Regions from separate parts of the Homo sapiens genome. Here all the other regions are linked to region 1. The links are contacts of gene promoters, found by promoter capture Hi-C in human tissues and cell types (Jung and others, 2019). All regions are on one chromosome and are shown on one strand. The core of a region is centred on a gene start or on the middle of the fragment in contact, and the rest is flanking DNA. Distances in the headings are between cores, read along the strand shown.

Evidence for each region. The method cuts DNA at HindIII sites, captures the fragments that hold promoters and counts their contacts. A contact is called where the count stands out against the background at its distance.
Region 2: a fragment that was not itself captured here is called in contact with the fragment with the promoter of TPK1 in region 1 in 2 of the 25 tissues and cell types used here (mesendoderm cells and thymus).
Region 3: a contact is called between a fragment that was not itself captured here and the fragment with the promoter of TPK1 in region 1, in 1 of the 25 tissues and cell types used here (hippocampus).

What each region holds. Positions count from the first base shown.
Region 1 is chr7:144,834,803-144,838,371 of GRCh38, forward strand. It overlaps TPK1 (thiamin pyrophosphokinase 1), which reads right to left and starts at 1,251. Exons shown (of 9, transcript NM_022445.4): 1 at 1,165-1,251; 2 at 758-816. The coding sequence starts at 800. RefSeq lists a silencer at 992-1,091 and an enhancer at 1,392-1,461. The HindIII fragment of the contact is 4,228 bases long and covers 869-3,569 here.
Region 2 is chr7:145,014,874-145,018,442 of GRCh38, forward strand. No RefSeq gene overlaps it. Among named protein-coding and RNA genes, the nearest start is that of TPK1, 180 kb to the left of the region's middle. The HindIII fragment of the contact is 4,293 bases long and covers 1-3,569 here.
Region 3 is chr7:144,666,773-144,670,341 of GRCh38, forward strand. The region is part of intron 4 of TPK1 (thiamin pyrophosphokinase 1); the gene reads right to left. Among named protein-coding and RNA genes, the nearest start is that of TPK1, 170 kb to the right of the region's middle. The HindIII fragment of the contact is 3,383 bases long and covers 282-3,569 here.

The sequences.
Region 1 (3,569 bases), core at 1-2,500:
GCCAGCCCATTCACCAGATGAGGCAAAAACCCAAGATAAATATCTGAGCAAGTCACGTAGACTGGGGCCCCCGAGCCCCAATACCAAGCGCCCCTTTATAAGCTCTTACATTTTGTCCAAATTTGAAATGGTTTCGTTAAGGCAGAAGCTTGGACTACTTCCCCATTGCTAGCTTTGGAAAGTAGTCACTTTCCTTTCCGGGCCCTTCGTCCTTGTTGATTGGCTCTGCAAGCAGCGAGCAGCCCAGCCTGAACTCGGTTACACAGTAATTTCAAATCTTAGAAGAATAAAATATCCTGAGTGTTATATAGATTTAAAACACTTGATATAATCATTTGCCAATCTTTTATTAGATAAGCTCGGGGCACTTTCAATGGATTAAAAATGCATCACGGTCAGGCAACGATGACCGTCCTTAATGCCTGCAATGTCTAATGTTCCGCTATGTTCCAGATTTGTTCGCGCTGTTGGTGGAGGCGCAACAGCCGGGAAGCGCTTACTGGGCTCCACACGGACTACACACACTGTATCTTGTCATTTCGTCCTCACAGCAAGGACTGATACGTAAGCTCATTTTTCAGATGAGGAAAATGAGACCGGCGAGAGGCTGATATGCTTAGCGGTACAGAGCTAGGAAATCAGGGACAGAACCCAGGCTGGAAGTCACGCTGGCTCTAGAGCCCCGTCCTTTCGACCTGTTCCCGTCGCTGGGGAGGGGCACGTCAGTGACACTAAACCGTGGAAAGAAATACAGTACCAGTGGAAAGCAGGGGCTCCAACGGGGTAAAGGCATGCTCCATAACGGATTATTGGCCTCTGCATTAAAAAAAAAAAAGTGAAGTTAGACTCTCAGTTTTAATTAAACATCGCGCAGAACCAACAGCACGGGAGCCGCCTGAACCTGGCACTCGGCAGCGGCGCGCTCCGGGACCCAGGAGCCAGCTGAGCTGCGGCGCAGCACCCGGCGCTGGGGACCCGCCACGGCTCGCCTACAGCACCGCCGCGGGCGGGGGCCCCCGGAGACCGGCCGCGCGGGCCGCTATGAGGTCCGAGGGGTTGCCCCTGCCGCCTCTCTCCGCGAACCCATCACCATCCGGGAACCTGGGGAGCGAGAGGCGGCCGCCCCCTTCCGCGGCCCGCGCGCCCGGCAGCAGTCGCACTTACACAATGGCTGGTAGGAGCCACAGACTGGAGATCGCAGGCTGCGGGAGCTACGGCGATCGACCGCTCGGCGCTCGGCTGAGGAGCCTTGGCGCGCGGTCCTCGCTCGCAGGTTTTAGCCCCCGGGACGCGAGGTGGCCCCGCCCGCTTCCGGGAGCCGGAGGCAAGTGGGAGCCGCGCCCTGTGCTCTGCGTCCGGCACTACCCACCTCAAGTCTCCAAGGCTTCGTTTTCTGGGCTGGTTCTGCTAGCTGTAGTACTGCTGCCGGGCCCTCTGCACTCAGCTTTAACAAGGAGGCCATTTGCTTCAAACTAAGTGGCGAATTCCCTATCACCCATGCTTGACCTAGCTTCCAAGCCAAACTTACTTTCCACTGTGCTGCTTCTAGTCCTGCTACCGGTGTCCTCCCTGAGCCGTCGGGTTAAAAGCTTTCCTTCCTGGCCGGGTGCGGTGACTCACGCCTGTAATCCCAGCAGTTTGGGAGGCCGAGGCGGACGGATCATGAGGTCAGAAGTTCGAGACCAGCCTGGCCAGCATGGTGAAACCTCGTCTCTACTAAAAATACAAAAAATTAGCCGGGCATGGTGGCGCGCGCCTGTAGGCCCAGCTACTCGGGAGGCCGAGGCAGGAGAATCGCTTGAACCCGGGAGGCCGGAGGTTGCAGTGAGCCAAGATCACACCAGTGCACTCCAGTCTGGGCGACAAAGCGAGACTCCATCTCAAAGAAAAAAAAAAAGCTTTCTTTAGGGAACACTCCGTTAAGAGCTTTCCTTACTTTGCTTTGTGGAAACAGAATGTTTTTGTTGGAAGAAACTTTAAGCCACCTATCTGCAGCTGCAGAGCGTCACTGTTGCAATACAGGCTTTTCCAATAGTGAGCGAACCTAATCTCCCTCTACCCTCTTAAGGTTTCCACCTGGGCCTAAGAGGTTAAATTGACTTAAGACAGTTTAACAGGGGAAAAGCTTACAGCTATGTGCATGGGAGTCCACAAGAAAAGACCCAAAGAAGGAGGAAGCCTAAATGCTTATATACGGGTTTAGCTACAACAAATTTCAAAAGTCCATGTTTAAATATGACCTTAATGAACCTAAAAGACAATTGGGGTACAAGGAAACTATCTGCACATGTAATAGACAAGTGGTTGCCATGTGTTTATCCTATGAAGAGCTGTTACCAGTTGATGTGTCCAGGTTCTTGGCGTCTTGAACAAAGAATTGGACAAAACGCACAAAGCAAGGAAAGAATGAAGCAAAAACAGAGATTTATTGAAGATGAAAGTACACCCCATAGGTTGGGAGCGCCCGAGGATAGGGGCTCAAGAGTGCCGTTAGAGAATGTTCTGGGGTTTAAATGCCAGCTAGAGGTTTCCATTGGTTACTTGGCTTATGCCCTATGTAAATGAAGAGGATGAAGTAAATTTTAAAGTCATTTACTGGATATAAGCCCTGTGTAAATGGAGAGGATGTTTCCTGTCATTGCTGAAGTACTGCAATTTGATTTAGTTCCAGGAAGTCAGCATGAATCGGCCTTAACATTCCCTGCCTCCAGACCCTATTCTGCCTCAGAACTACATGTCCATTAGTAAAAGGCAAACCAGAAAAATTATGACCAAGGATATAAACAGGCAAGGCAAATTATAGAAGGTAGTCAAATGGCAAAAACACATCACCAATATTCAGAACGAAATCTTGAACAATGAATTCAATGGCAGATTGTAACCAATTTTTTAAGCAGTAATAAAAATTTACACTTACTGATCAATTATTATGTTCCAGTCAGTGTTGAGGTCTTTTATATTTTATTTAATTACCCTAAAATGTAGGCTCCAGGAAAACAAGGACCAAAATTTAGTTGTTGGCCCTTGAATCCTCACTCTAGCACAGTTTACTTGTTAATGATTTGTCTCCCCCTACTAGAGAGCTAGCTCTCTAAGGGCAGGAGCCTTGTCTATTTCCTTCCCTGCTATTTCTCCAGCCACACAGTGTGTCTCACCAAGATAAGTTCAGTAAATGTGAAATAAATTAACAAATAATGGGAAAAAAATGGAGAATTATGGTACTTCATACCAGGAATTACAGGCATACCTCCTTTTATTGTGTTTAGCTTTATTGTGCTTTACAGATACCGCTTTTACAAATTGAAAGTTTGTGGCAAGCCTGCATCAAGCAGGTCTATCTGCAACATTTTTCCGAAAGCGTGTACCTGCTTCGTGTCTCTGCGTCATATTTTGGTAATTTTCACAATACTTCAAATATTTCCATTAATATATTCATTACAATCTGTGATTAGTGATTCTTAATGTTACTCTTGTCATTGTTTTGGGGTGCCACCAGCCATGCCCTTATAAGACGGCAAACTTAATAGATCAATGTTGTGTGTTTCTTACTGCCCCGGGACCAGTACATT
Region 2 (3,569 bases), core at 481-2,980, 180 kb after region 1:
AGACCCATAAGGCTTGATGTGGTGACATGGTGACTCTGAACTCTTCCATCTGATAATCCTTGGTATCCTTAACCTGAATTGTTATGTTCCTGGCATGTGTAGACAGGGCATTGAAATAAATGTTTTCAGAGAAAAAAGCTTGGTTCATTAATTACATGGAAGTGCTGGCCCTGAAACTGAATGTTGGGTTCTAGTCAAGCACAATGTACAGAAATAGGTCAAATGACTCTAGTGAGTTGAAGGGTACATGCATTTTTATATCTACAGAGGTGAAAAAAAAACCACACAGGTTTTCCATCATTCATGGTCTCTGCGGACTTAATCTTCAAGCTTTGAAATATCTTGTTCTCCTTCAGTATCTGTATAAAAGCACCCATTTAAAAAATGAAATAGCTTTTCAGTTTACTCTACTATTATCTTAATTGTTGGAACTTGGAGTTTTTCCTTGGAGGTCAGCTTTGGTGAACTTGGTCCACTGCTGTGTCCTGGCCAGACTTTGCATCTTTACCAGCTATTGAAGTGCTATTCCCAGGTGGGAAGGAATCATGGCAACTCCTCAGCAGTCTGCAGTAATCCAGCTCCCAGAGCAGCCAAGTCATTGCTCTACCAGCCATGAGAATAGCATTCCAGAATTACCTTTATTCCCAGCTTTTCCATGGTCGACACCTGGCTCAGTTACTAATAGGAAGAATCTGACTGAACGTTCCAGGGCCCAGGTGAATTTTTTTTTTTTTTTTTTAAGAGCAGAAGAAGCTGAAATATATGAAAGCAGCCAAATAACAGTAAGATCCTGGTCTCTAATATATTTTACTCCATTCCACAGAGTATGATGTGGCAAGATAAGCTTTAGTTTCGCTTCTCCTTTCAGACCCTGTATTCATTCCTTCCTTATGCAAGGAGTACACCTTTGGAATAAGTATGCAAATTTTTTTTTTTTTTTTGAGACAGAGTCTGGATCTGTCACCCAGGCTGGAGTGCAGTGGCGCGATCTCGGCTCACTGCAAGCTCCGCCTCCCGGGTTCACTCCATTCTCCTGCCTCAGCCTCCCGAGTAGGTGGGACTACAGATGTTCGCCACCACACCCGGCTAATTTTTTTTATTTTTAGTACAGACGGGGTTTCACCGTGGTCTCTATCTCCTGACCTCGTGATGCGCTCGCCTCGGCCTCCCAAAGTGCTGGGATTACAGGCGTGAGCAAACTTTTTAATAGAATAATGCAGCTGACTTATGCTGTGAAAGGCAGCCAAGAGAGAAAGGTTTTATATTTTACAATGGCTCTACTCTTAAGTATCTATCCCATCCCATCTAGTGATTCACTGAATTTCCATTGAACAGCAGCAGAGCCTCTTATGTAACTCCTTCAAGTTAGAGCCTGGAGCCCTAGGGTCAAGGACGACCAGTAGAGGAGGCTCAAGGGGCATGAAAGAAAGCGAGGAGAGTATTCAGAGTGAAGTAGCTATTTTTTAGGCATAAAGGGTGCATTTGTAAGGAGTGAAGGAAATATCTGTGCATTCTTGTTACTTTGTGTGCTTCAGTGGCTATCTAGTAGAAATGTATTTGTTCTGATAATGCACTGCACTACGGGTCCTCCCAGACATTTTGGAACTGAAAAAGGAATATACTGCTCTTCTTCCATTACACAATCTCATTCTTGTCTTTGTTTTCAATCTGTGTTTTGCCCCTGCTCTATAGGAATGTTTATGCTCTAAGCTGATTTATTGATAGTTCTTAGATACATCAGAGATTTCTAGTTAATCATTCTTTATGCAAAAGATTCTGTTTTGGAAATTTATAATGTATATTTATTATTGGCAGGTACATGAATTTAACATTTTTATAAATATTGGTAAATTTCTCTCCAAATAGGTAGTACCTATTGAACATAAATGTAATTTAAATTGAATTTACCGTTAAGAGTGCTGATGAGAATACTTCAGTCTTATTGCCATTTAAAAGCTATATGATATCCAACTAAAATGTTTGCTAATCTAGCGGTAATTTTTGTTAATCTGATTCTAGTTTTAATTTGCGTTTCTTTAATGTCATGAGTTTTAGTATTGTTTGAAATGTTTATAAGCTACTTCTGTTTTTCTTTGTGTTTGCCTTTTGTGGTTACATTTTTATGCTCTTTATAGGATTTCCGATTACATTTTTGTTTTTTCTTATTGGTTTGTAAGAGTTTTCTGTATGTTAAAGAAATATATCTTTTATCTGTCATATTGTTACAAATATTTTTTCTTTGGTTGTTTTATCTTTGACTTATGGATATATACCCTAGTAAAAATCTACTAAGATTAATAAGAGAAGATGATAAGCTAGCTGGATAAAGAATAACCTTACAAAACTCATACGTCTTATCTATACTGAAAACAGTTTGTTTGAATTGAAAATGAAAAACAATAAAATGCTGACAAAACTATAAAATACTTTGGAATAAATTTTAAAAGACTGATCAGTATCTCCAAAGAGAAATCTATACATTGTATTAAGGGAAAAAGATCTAAATAAAGTTTCAAGTCATACCATGTTTCAGGATGCAGAACATTTATTTTCTATTTTCAAATAAATATAAACATTTAACAAAGTGCTACTTCACTTTTTTTAAAAAATAGAATATCATGTTTAAAACTAAAATGGATAAATATTAGAAAATGGCTTCCCAAATTATGAAACAATCAAATAGTGTTAGGGTTCTTGGCTTGTCAGATACTAAAGCTGATTACAAAGTCACTAGAATAAAAGAAAGATAATAGCAAAGGAATAGGTAAACAGATTAGTAGAAGAGAACCAGAAATATATCTACTATATGCAGAAATGTGATATGTGACAACTGTTGCATTTCAGTTCATTTATTGAAGCAGATGGTTTCTCTAATAAGCGGTGCTAGCAAAAATGGCTGTTCAATTGAAAAAAATACGAGCATATTGTCCTGCCTCACATTATGTAGAAATTGAAATGTAACATAGATAGTAGTTTAAATATTAAAAAATAAGAAGTTTGGAAGAAAACATAGAAAAACATTTTTAAATATCTTAAAGAATATTTGTTTAAGCAAGAAAACAAACCCATGAACCTTAAAAACTCCCTAAAGATTAAAAGGTATATAAGCCCAGAAAAAATATATAAGCAAAATTAAGCTAAAAGCAATAGTCTCAGGGAAATAATTACAGTATTTCTGTCAGATAAAGCGTTAATATATAGAGTTTACCAAAAGCATTGATAAGAAAAAGAGAACAGTCAACAGACAAGAGGCAAAGTATAAGTATACAAACAGGAAACTCAGGTAAGAAGGAAACCCAAATGCCAGTAAATCAGTAGATGATATTCAACCTCCATTGTAGCAGAAAAATGTAAATTAAAAAAAATGAGCTTCTACTTTTTGCTCATCACATTATCAAAAAATAAAAAGCAATAAAGCTCAATGCTGTCAAAAAGGCAAAGGGCATGCGTATGTTGGAAGTTGTCTCAGGTAATAATGAAAATTAGTAACTAAAAATATATATAGCCTTTTATCCAGCAATCCCAATTCTGGGAATCTTTCTTATATAGATCAAAACACTAATATATAA
Region 3 (3,569 bases), core at 723-3,222, 170 kb before region 1:
CTCAGTATCTGTACTGTCTGCAGTCATTAGGTTATTTTCACTGTCTCATGGCCTTATATGGCTTTCTATATACTGATGACTCTGTATCCAACAACCTACTCAATGTGAGGTGGATAAATAACTCAAACTTAAATCACTGAATCTCTTCTCTTTCCCCCACTGTAACCACTACTCTTACAATCTCCCCAATCTAAGGAAAAATCATTCTTTTCTAGTTGTTTAGTTCAAAATCCTTGACTTTTCTTGGAGTCATCCTTCACTTTTCTTTCTTGCACCTAGTAACTGATTTGTCAGCCAGTTCTATAGGGGAAAATACATTCTCAATCTGGCTCTTTCTTTGCATCCTCCGTGGTACAATCCTGAAAAAACAGCTGATGGCATTCCTCTGCTGAAAACCTTCCAGTGACTTCCCATCTCATTCATAGTAAATCATCAATACTATCTACAAAGGAACTTTAAGATCTACCCTGTTATCTTTCTGATCACTCTCCTTCCTAGTAAGTTCCCCTCATTATCTCCACTTGCAGATTGTTTGCACAATTATCCATAATTATTTCCTCCTCCCAATCTATACCCCTTTATAATGTGACTTTCCAGACTGTTTCATCACAAGCTATTAATATGCATCCCTTTCCCCACCTCAATAATTTGTATTAGCCTTGAAACCTGCTTTCACTTAAAAAATGCAGTAGAAGTGACAGCATGGCAGTTAGGAATAGAGGCTTCAAGTGGAGCTGCAGCCTTCCCTTTGCTCTCTTGGAACCCTCCCCTGTTACCATGAGAGTAATTCTGAGCATGCCTGATGGATGGAGGATGAGACTGGAGTCAGGTACAGCTTACAGACATCCAACCTCTAAACATGTGGGTCCTTTCTACATGCTGACATCATCAACAAAACTGCCTACCCAACTGTGATATCATGATATAAGAGGAAATATACATTTGGTCTTCACCTCTCGTTTCCGATAAAAGAGTTGCCAAGACCCTTGGAAGCTCCACAGTAATGGGTGTCTTTCGGTGTCCTGATGAGATGACTGGTGGCTGGGGGCCTCGAGGAGAGTTTCAAGTTGGAGGCTGATACCCAAGAAAGACAAAGGCATGATCAGAGTGTGGAACGTTCATACCCACCACTCCCAGTGGAGCTACAGATTATGCTAATCACCGATGGCCAATGATGTAATCAATCATGCCCATGTAACAGAACCCCCATTTAAAAACCCTAAACAATGTGGTTCAGAGAGCTTTCAGGTTGGGGAACATATCCACATGCCGGGAGGGTAGTGTATCCCAAAGCCAAGGGGGACAGAAGCTCCTGCCTTAGGACTTCTCCAGATCCCACCCTCTGTACCACATCAGCTGGCTGTTCACATTCATCCTTTATAACATCCTTTTATAATAAATTGTAAACATAAGTGTTTCCCTGAGTTCTGTGAGCCATTATAGCAAATTACCAAACACGAGGAGGGAGTTCTGGGGACCCACTAGTTGCAACTGGCATTTAAAGTGCATGGCAATCTAGTAGGACTAAGTCCTTTACCTGTGTGTGTGTTGGAGGGTGGTGGTCTGTGCTTACTCTGAATAATGTCAGATTGAATTAAATTGTCGGACACCCAGTTGGTGGCCACAGACAACTGGCAAATTGTTTGATGTATAAAACCCAGATGTTTAGTGGCAGAAGTGTTGTGAGTACAGGAACAGTTTTCCTTTACCAACCCACGTAACTGGCACATGAATGAGCCCACAAGATCTGCCTAGCTGACCTTAGACTTGTGAGTAAATAAATAAATCAGTGTTTAAAGCCATTAATTTTGGGGGTAGCTTATGATACAGCAAAAGCTAACTGATATCATTCTCATGTCTCAGGGCCTCTGCACAAGCATCCCCACTTCCTGGAAGGTTCTTCCTTTGGCTGAGCAAATGGCTTGCTTCTCCACCCCCTGCAGGTCTTAACTCAGAAGTCACCTGCTCAGTGAGGCTCTCCCTCACTTTAACTGCTAACAACCTACTGCAAAGCATGCTACCTCTTCTCCTGCGTTATTATTCTCCTTCTCACTAGTAATATACTTAATATTTTAATTATTTGTCTTGCTTATTTCCTCTATGGGAGGTCAATGAAGTCAAGTATTTTGCTCTCCGCTGCATCATAGGTGACTACAATAATGCCTGTTATATAGAATGACTCCATAATTAAAATATGCTAAAATAATAATGGAATATGATTTCCTACATAATATATCAAAAAAACTTAAGTTAATAAATCTGGCAAGAGCAGAGAGAAATGTAAATTGTCTTATACTGTTGATGAAGGTTAACTTAAGCAACAATATTCTGGAAAGCAAGTTGTCAACTTAGACTTAAATACATTTTTTAAAATTTATAACTTCTGGAGCATGTCTTAACGTCTGTGAAACTACTGTAAGTGTCACAAACTCATACACTTATAATACTACTTAATGTTTTTATAATACTTAACAAAGTTTTATTTACCAAAGATTTACTTATAAAAAACTTATAAGCTGTCTGGGCGCAGTGGCTTACGCCTGTAATCCCAGCACTTTGGGAGGCCAAAGTGGGTGGATCACCTAAGGTCAGGAGTTTGAGACCAGCCTGGCGAAACCCCGTCTCTACTAAAAATACAAAAATTAGCCGGGCGTGGTGGCGCACGTCTATAGTCCCAGCTACTTAGGAGGCTGAGGCAGGAGAATCATTTGAACCCGGGAGGCAGAGGTTGTAGTGAGCCAAGATTGCGCCACTGCACTCCAGCCTGGGTGACAAAGTGAGACTCTGTCTCAAAAAAAAAAAAAACACACAACTTATGAGCTACATAACTTTCTGATATATGGAGAATGGTTGAGAGATAAAAATGTAACAAAATTTATATATAATGACTTGGTAGCATGTTCATAATATAATGTTAAAAACAGGCATGATATAAAGCAATATATAGATAAAAATCTGTATTTCATTACATGTACACACATACATACACAGAGCAATAAACATACAAAAATGTAAAATTGAAAAAAATTATATATGTAAAAATATTAACAGACGTTATCTATAGAAGTGGGATTTTAGGTTATTTTAACTTTTTTCTTTATGTCTTCCTCTATTCCCCAAATTCATTATAATAATCCTATGTCCATAGGTGGGGGAAAAGTTAGAGGCGATAGCAGAGAATTTGCCTTTTAAAATATATAAAGTTTAAAAGAAAGGTAAATACTAAATGATACAAATTCGAGGTGTTTAATTTATCTTTATATATTTTGTAATTATGACTGCATCAAAAATTACTTGAATACGGTTTTATTTAAAATTGAACAAATAAGCTCAATTAAAATAAATAAGTTCAGTTCAGATTTCTGTCACACAATTTGGCTAAAATCTCACTTTGATAATCCTTGCCTCCTGTATTCTTACTTGATTGCATCCTATTAAAAGCATTAGAGGGCATCAGTGTAATGCATAATCACTAACTCTCTCCTCCCACATCAGAATTAAGCTTTGGCAAGCAACTGCCACATGGAGAAAAGTCGCTGGGAAAGCCCTATTACTGCTAATAGGAATCA